Linked DNA regions of Homo sapiens: region 1 is linked to region 2. Evidence: promoter capture Hi-C in human tissues and cell types (Jung and others, 2019). All regions are on one chromosome and are shown on one strand. The core of a region is centred on a gene start or on the middle of the fragment in contact, and the rest is flanking DNA. Distances in the headings are between cores, read along the strand shown.

The links. Contacts are between HindIII fragments. The study calls those that stand out against the background at their distance.
Region 1: a fragment that was not itself captured here is called in contact with the fragment with the promoter of FBXW9 in region 2 in 1 of the 25 tissues and cell types used here (spleen).

What each region holds. Positions count from the first base shown.
Region 1 is chr19:12,741,774-12,745,095 of GRCh38, reverse strand. The region is part of intron 2 of GET3 (guided entry of tail-anchored proteins factor 3, ATPase); the gene reads right to left. Among named protein-coding and RNA genes, the nearest start is that of GET3, 5.9 kb to the right of the region's middle. RefSeq lists an enhancer at 1-32. The HindIII fragment of the contact is 4,515 bases long and covers 1-3,322 here.
Region 2 is chr19:12,694,808-12,698,193 of GRCh38, reverse strand. FBXW9 (F-box and WD repeat domain containing 9) reads left to right here and starts at 1,563. Exons shown (of 10, transcript NM_032301.3): 1 at 1,563-2,021; 2 at 3,256-3,386. The coding sequence starts at 1,613. RefSeq lists enhancers at 1,234-1,293, 1,604-1,653. The HindIII fragment of the contact is 8,232 bases long and covers 1-3,386 here.

The sequences.
Region 1 (3,322 bases), core at 646-3,145, 47 kb before region 2:
TGCTACTCCCCACTTGCAACCTGCCACTTGCAACCCCAGATACTCCCATGACTGGGCCATGACCTCTTCCGGATCATCATCCCTCCACTGAGAGACTCCCTGACCACCCTAAGTAACAGCACAGATCCACCGACACCCCTGCCCTGCCTTCCTTTCTCCTTAAGGTTTAGCCCTTAGGAGCTGGGCAGGATAGCTCACGCCTGTAGTCCCAGGTACTCAGGAGAATGAGATGGGAGGATCGCTTGAGCCCAGGAGTTGGACACCAGCCTGGGCAATATAGCAAGACCTATCTGAAAAAAAAATTAGCCCTTCCTCACATCCCTCATGATTCCCTTATCATGTTTATCATCTGTCTCCATAGCAGGAATGTCTGCCCCTCAGGGGCAGGGGTTTTACCATCTAGTTCACTGCTGTGTCCTTAGCGCTTAGCATGAACAGTGCCTGGCACAGAGGTCGTCAGCACATATGGGGAATCCAGCCAGGCGCGGTACCTCATGCCTGTAATTCCAGCCCTTTGGGAAGCGGAGGCGGGCAGATCACCTGAGGTCGGGAGCTTGAGGCCAGCCTGGCCAACATGGTGAAACCCCGTCTCTACTAAAAATACAAAAATTAGCCATGCATAGTGGCGGGTGCCTATAATCCCAGCTACTCTGGAGGTTGAGGCAGGGGAATCGCTTGAACCCGGGAGGCAGAGGTTACAGTGAGCCGAGATCACGCCATTACACTCCAGCCTGGGTGACAGAGGGAGACTCTGTCTCAAAAAACAAACAACAAAACAAAACACAAACATGTATGTAGAATCTATGAAGGGATGGCCATGGCTGGGGTCCCTGGCCAGTCTCAGACTCAATGCCTCCCTCTTTTTTTTTTTTTTTTCCCGAGATGGAGTTTTGATCTTGTTGCCTAGGCTGGAGTGCAGTGGCGCGATCTCAGCTCATCACAACCTCCACCTTCTGGGTTCAAGCAATTCTCCTGCCTCAGCCTCCCGAGTAGCTGAGACTATAGGCATGCCCCACCATGCCTGGCTAATTTTTTTTTTTTTTTTTTTTTTTGAGATGGAGTCTTGGCCGGGCGTGGTGGCTCACGCCTGTAATCCCAGCACTTTGGGAGGCCGAGGCAGGCAGATCACCTGAGGTTAGGAGATCGAGACCATCCTGGCTAACACGGTGAAACCCCGTCTCTACTAAAAATACAAAAAATTAGCCGGGCGAGGTGGCGGGTGCCTGTAGTCCCAGCTACTTGGGAGGCTGAGGCAGGAGAATGGCATGAACCCCAGGGGGCGGAGCCTGCAGTGAGCTGAGATCACGCCACTGCACTCCAGCCTGGGCGACAGAGCGAGACTCCATCTCAAAAAAAAAAAAAAAAAAAAAAAAGAGATGGAGTCTCGCTCTGTCACCCAGGCTGGAGTGCAGTGAGTAGCTGGGACTACAGGCGCCCGCCACCACACCTGGCTAATTTTTTGTATTTTTAGTAGAGACGGGGTTTCACTGTGTTAGCCAGGATGGTGGCGATCTCCTGACCTCGTGATCCACCCACCTCGGCCTCCCAAAGTGCTGGGATTACAGGCACGAGCCATCACGCCTGGCCATGCCTGGCTAATTTTTGTAATTTTTTTTTTTTCTGAGATGGAGTTTCACTCTTGTTGTCTAGGCTGGACAATGGCGTGATCTTGGCTCACTGCAACCTCCGCCTCCAGGGTTCAAGTGATTCTCCTGCCTCAGCTTCCTGAGTAGCTGGGATTACAGGCATGCGCCACCACCCCAGCTAATTTTGTATTTTTAGTAGAGACGGGGCTTCTCTATGTTGGTCAGGCTGGTTTTCAACTCCCAACCTCAGGTGATCCACCCACCTCAGCCTCCCAAAATGCTGGGATTACAGGTATGAGCCACCATGCCCGGCCAATGCCTCCCTCTTTATCTTCCTCCTCTGTCACCTCTTCTTGGTAACTTCATGGGTCCCATGGGGAAGTACCCAACTCGCTGGCCTTAGGGGTCATTCCCTGTTGGGGAGCTTGCCCACTCATCACTGCACCCTCTTCTTATGCTTCATATATTTTAAGCTTCTTTGGACTACTTCATCCCCTCACCTGGCCCCTGTAAACTGTCAGTGTTCCTCTTGGCTGGCACCCTTATCCAGCCCAGCCTCCACAGGTTCCCTCTGCAAACACTCCCTTTCCCCTTGCTGTTGGCAAAATCCCCCACTCTGGTTACTTCCAGCTTTTTTTTTCTTTCTTTTAGAGATAGCGTCTTGGCCGGGCGCGGTAGCTCACACTTGTAATCCCAGTGTATTAGGAAGCCAAGCCAGGCAGATCATTTGAGGTCAGGAGATTGAAAACAGCCTGGCCAACATGTTGAAACCCCGTCTCTACTAAAAAAAAATACAGGCCAGGCGCGGTGGCTCACGCCTGTAATCCCAGCACTTTGGGAGGCCAAGGCGGGTGGATCACGAGGTCAGGAGATCGAGACCATCCTGGTTAACATGGTGAAACCCCGTCTCTACTAAAAATACTAAAAATTAGCCGGGCATGGTGGCATGCACCTGGAGTCCCAGCTACTCGGGAGGCTGAGGCAGGAGAATCACTTGAAATCGGGAGGAAGAGGTTGCAGTGAACCGAGATTGCGCCACTGCACTCCATCCTGGGCGACAGAATAAGACTCCGTCTCAAAACAAACAAAAAAAACCCCCCCAAAACAAAAATTAGCCGGATGTGGTGGCGGGCGCCTGTAATCACAGCTACTTGGGAGGCTGAGGCAGGAGAATCGCTTAAACTCAGGAGGTAGAGGTTGCAGTGAGCTGAGATCACACCACTGCACTCCAGCCTGGGTGACAGAGTGAAACTCAGTCTCAAAAAAAAAAAAAAAAAAGATACCATCTCATACATAGCTCATTGCAGCCTCAAACTCTTAGGCTCAAATGATCCTCCTGCCTCAACCTACCAACTTACTGGGACTATAGGCACACACCACCATGCCCAGCTAATTTTGTTTGTTTTTTGTAGAGAAAGGGTCTCCCTTTGTTGCCCAGGCTGGTCTTGAACTCCTGACCTCACGTGATCCTCTTGTCTCAGTCTCTGCAAGCACTGAAATGATAGGTATGGCTTTCTAGCTCTTTAGTATCACTGCACTTGAGGGCCGAACACTCCTGAAGAGTATTCCCATCTTGCTCCTCACCCTTTTGGAGACGGAGTCTCGCTCTGTCATCCAGGTTGGAGTACAGTGGCACAATCTCGACTCACTGTGACCTCCGCCTCCCAGGTTCAAGCAATTCTTTGCCTCAGCCTCCCGAGTATCTGGGATTACAGGCGCCCACCACCAGGCCCAAC
Region 2 (3,386 bases), core at 314-2,813:
CGTGGATTGGTTAGCTGCCTGGCTCAAAAGAGGCTTGCAGTAAATACCTGCAGTTTTTTTGTTTGAGACGGAGTTTTGCTCTTGTTGCCCAAGCTGGAGTGCAATGATGCCATCTCGGCTCACTGCAACCTCCGCCTCCCAGGCTCAAGTGATTCTCCTGCCTCAGCCTCTGAGCAGCTGAGATTACAGGTGCCTGCCACCACACCCGGCCAATTCTTTGTATTTTTAGTAGGAAGGGGTTTCACCTTGTTGGCCAGGCTGGTCTTGAACTCCTGACCTCAAGTGATTAACCCACCTTGCCTCTCGAAGTGGTGGGATTACAGGCCTGAGCCACCGCACCCGGCCAACATGCTGTTTTAGTAAGTGTGATGTTAGGCCGGGCGCAGTGGCTCACGCCTGTCATCCCATCACTTCGGGAGGCTGAGGCGGGCGGATCACGAGGTCAGGAGTTTGAGACCAGCCTGGCCAACATAGTGCGACCCCGTCTCTACTGAAAAATACAAAAATTAGCCAGGAGTGGTGGCGCGTGCCTGTATTCCCAGCTACTCTAGAGGCTGAGGCAGGAGAATCGCTTGAACCCGGGAGGCGGAGGTTGCAGCCAGCCGAGATCGCGCCACTGCACACCAGCCTGGGTGACAGAGTGAGACTCCGTCTCAGAAAAAAGAAAAAGGTAGCTTTCCACCAGGCGCGATGGTTCACGCCTGTAATCCTGGTACTTTGGGAGACCAAGTTGGGGGCGGATGGCTTGAGCTCAGGAGTTCCAGACCAGCCTGGACAACGTAGTGAAACCCTGTCTTTACAAAAGAATACAAAAATTAGCCGGGTGTGGTGGTGCGCGCCTGTAGTCCCAGCTACCTGGGGGGCCGAGGTGGAGGATCACTTGAGTCCAGAAAGCGGAGGTTGCAATGAGCCAAGCACTCCGCTTGGAGGACTGAACTGCTGTCCTCCAAGGTTGGGTTGGGGAATGGGGTCTGGAGAGGTAGTTCTGAGGCCCCAGTTCCTTTCTCAAAAAAAAAAAAAAAAAAAAAAAAAGTCACTTAACTGATGCCTCTGCAGTGTAACTGCATATTTCTGGCTCTGGGAAAAGAGGCAAGAGTTCCAATCTCTACTCCTTGAACTCGGAAAGGGGCCTTTGGGTTTCTAAGCTCAGTGTCACATATAACAGATGCCTTCGTTAAAGCAGTGTTTATTTTATGTCTAATTTAAAGAGACAGGGTCTCACTATGTTGCGCAGGTTGGAGTACAGTGGCACAACCATGGCTCACTGCAGTCTCGAACTCCTGGACTCAAGGGATCCTACCCCTTCACCTTCCTGAGTATCTGGAACTACAGGCGCGCGCCACCCCGCCTGGCTTGAGTTTCGTTTTTAGCTAGAGTTGGCTGGCTCTCGGTATCGGCTAGTTTAAAAAGCGCAGAAACAGGAACCTGCATTTTCCAGCCTAAGGCCGACGCAGTTGCAAGAGACCCTGTAAGCGGGGCGATGTTCTGTATTAAGCCAGTGTCTGACTTCGTCGCTTCCGGTGGGCGCATAAACGTCATCAGACAGCGCCGGAAGTGCCCTCGTGCTGCCTAGGAGACAAGACGCGAGGCCGGCAGCGCCCACCCGGTCGCAATGGAGCTTCCCCTAGGGCGGTGCGATGATTCCCGCACCTGGGACGATGACTCGGACCCAGAGTCAGAGACAGACCCAGACGCGCAGGCCAAGGCCTACGTGGCCCGCGTTCTCAGTCCGCCAAAATCCGGGCTGGCGTTCTCGCGCCCCTCGCAGCTATCCACACCCGCCGCGTCCCCGAGCGCTTCGGAGCCTCGGGCCGCGTCCAGGGTTTCGGCCGTAAGTGAGCCGGGCCTTCTGAGCCTTCCCCCGGAGCTGCTGCTCGAGATCTGCTCCTACCTGGACGCCCGCCTCGTGCTCCACGTCCTGTCGCGGGTGTGCCACGCGCTCCGCGACCTCGTGTCTGACCATGTCACCTGGAGGCTACGCGCGCTACGCCGCGTACGCGCGCCCTACCCAGTGGTGGAAGGTGCGCGGGGCCGGGGGCCGGGGACCGGGGGCCGGGGGCGCCCGCCCAGGTCAGGCTTGGGGCGGGGAAGAGGTACATGGGGTGTTCCGGATGCAGCCTCTGGTGCAGGCTTCGTGGCTGTCCTGGCTCAGGCTGGAGGCTAAGGTAGTTACTGGTGGTGCCGAAGCCCCTGAGGACCTCTGGGTGGACCACGAGGCAGTCAGGCACTTGGGGTCCTGAGGCTGTGAAACCCTAACATGGGGCTGTGGTTCCTGGACGACTCAGGATCCAAATATCCTCAGTCTTGGGGTCTTGTGGTACTAAGCCACTGACCCCTGATTGGGGATTGACACAGGGACTTGAAGTCTTAGGCTCTGGAGTTTATGCTGGGGCTCAAAGTGAGCCCAAGGATCCTCAGGTTCTGAGTCCAGCTTAGAAGCTGAGACAGCACCTGTTGATGTCAAAACTCCTGAGCCCTAGAGCCTTGACCCAGTTAGGGGTGAGACAGTGGCTCTTGGCCCTGAGTTGATTGGTTCCTGAGGGAAGACAGCTTGGGACCTTTGAATCGATATTGTTGATCCTGATACAGCTGGATCCTCAGGCCCTTAAGCCAAGATGTATTACAGCTTGGGTGTTTGATACCCTTAACCTGGAAGCTTTGATTCTGCTTAGAGAGGAATCAGGATCACTCCGGGATCAGTGATTCTCAAGGTGTTGCCATCCAACCCCCAGGTCAGACTCTCCCAAACAGCTTAATAAACATAGATGCTTGGACCCCGTCCATATCACAGAATCTGCATCTGGGGCTTGCATTCTGCATCTTGACAAGGCTCCCTGGTTTCCAGATACTGTTTGAGAAACAGCCCCCTTGGTCTGGTTCAGATGGCTGAGGCAGGAAGGGTTAGTCATGAGGTCCCAGCTTCTATGCTGAGCCTGAGGTCAGACCTCAACATCCTGAGACTGCTCTGCCCTGAGTTTGGGTTGGGGGATGGCGCCTGGAGAGGTAGTTCTGAGACCCCAGTTCCCAATTTCTGGAAATTGGAGTGAGTAGTCCTAGACCTGCCTGGGAAATGGGCAGGCAGGTGGTCCCAAGACCACAGCCTGGGTCGGCTTGGGGTGGGAGTAGGGATCTCCATGGGGTTCTGTCCAAGTCTGGTGTAGTGTGGGCTCCCTGGAAGCCAGGGTTGGGCTTGGCCAGCTGGCATGGGTGCTAGGGTCCCTGCCCACTGGGCACCCTACTCGTGGTAACCCACAGAGAAGAACTTTGACTGGCCGGCAGCCTGCATTGCGCTGGAGCAGCACCTGTCCCGCTGGGCAGAGGATGGGCGCTGGGTCGAATACTTCTGCCTGGCCGAAGGCCACGTGGCTTCCGTTGACTCAGTGCTG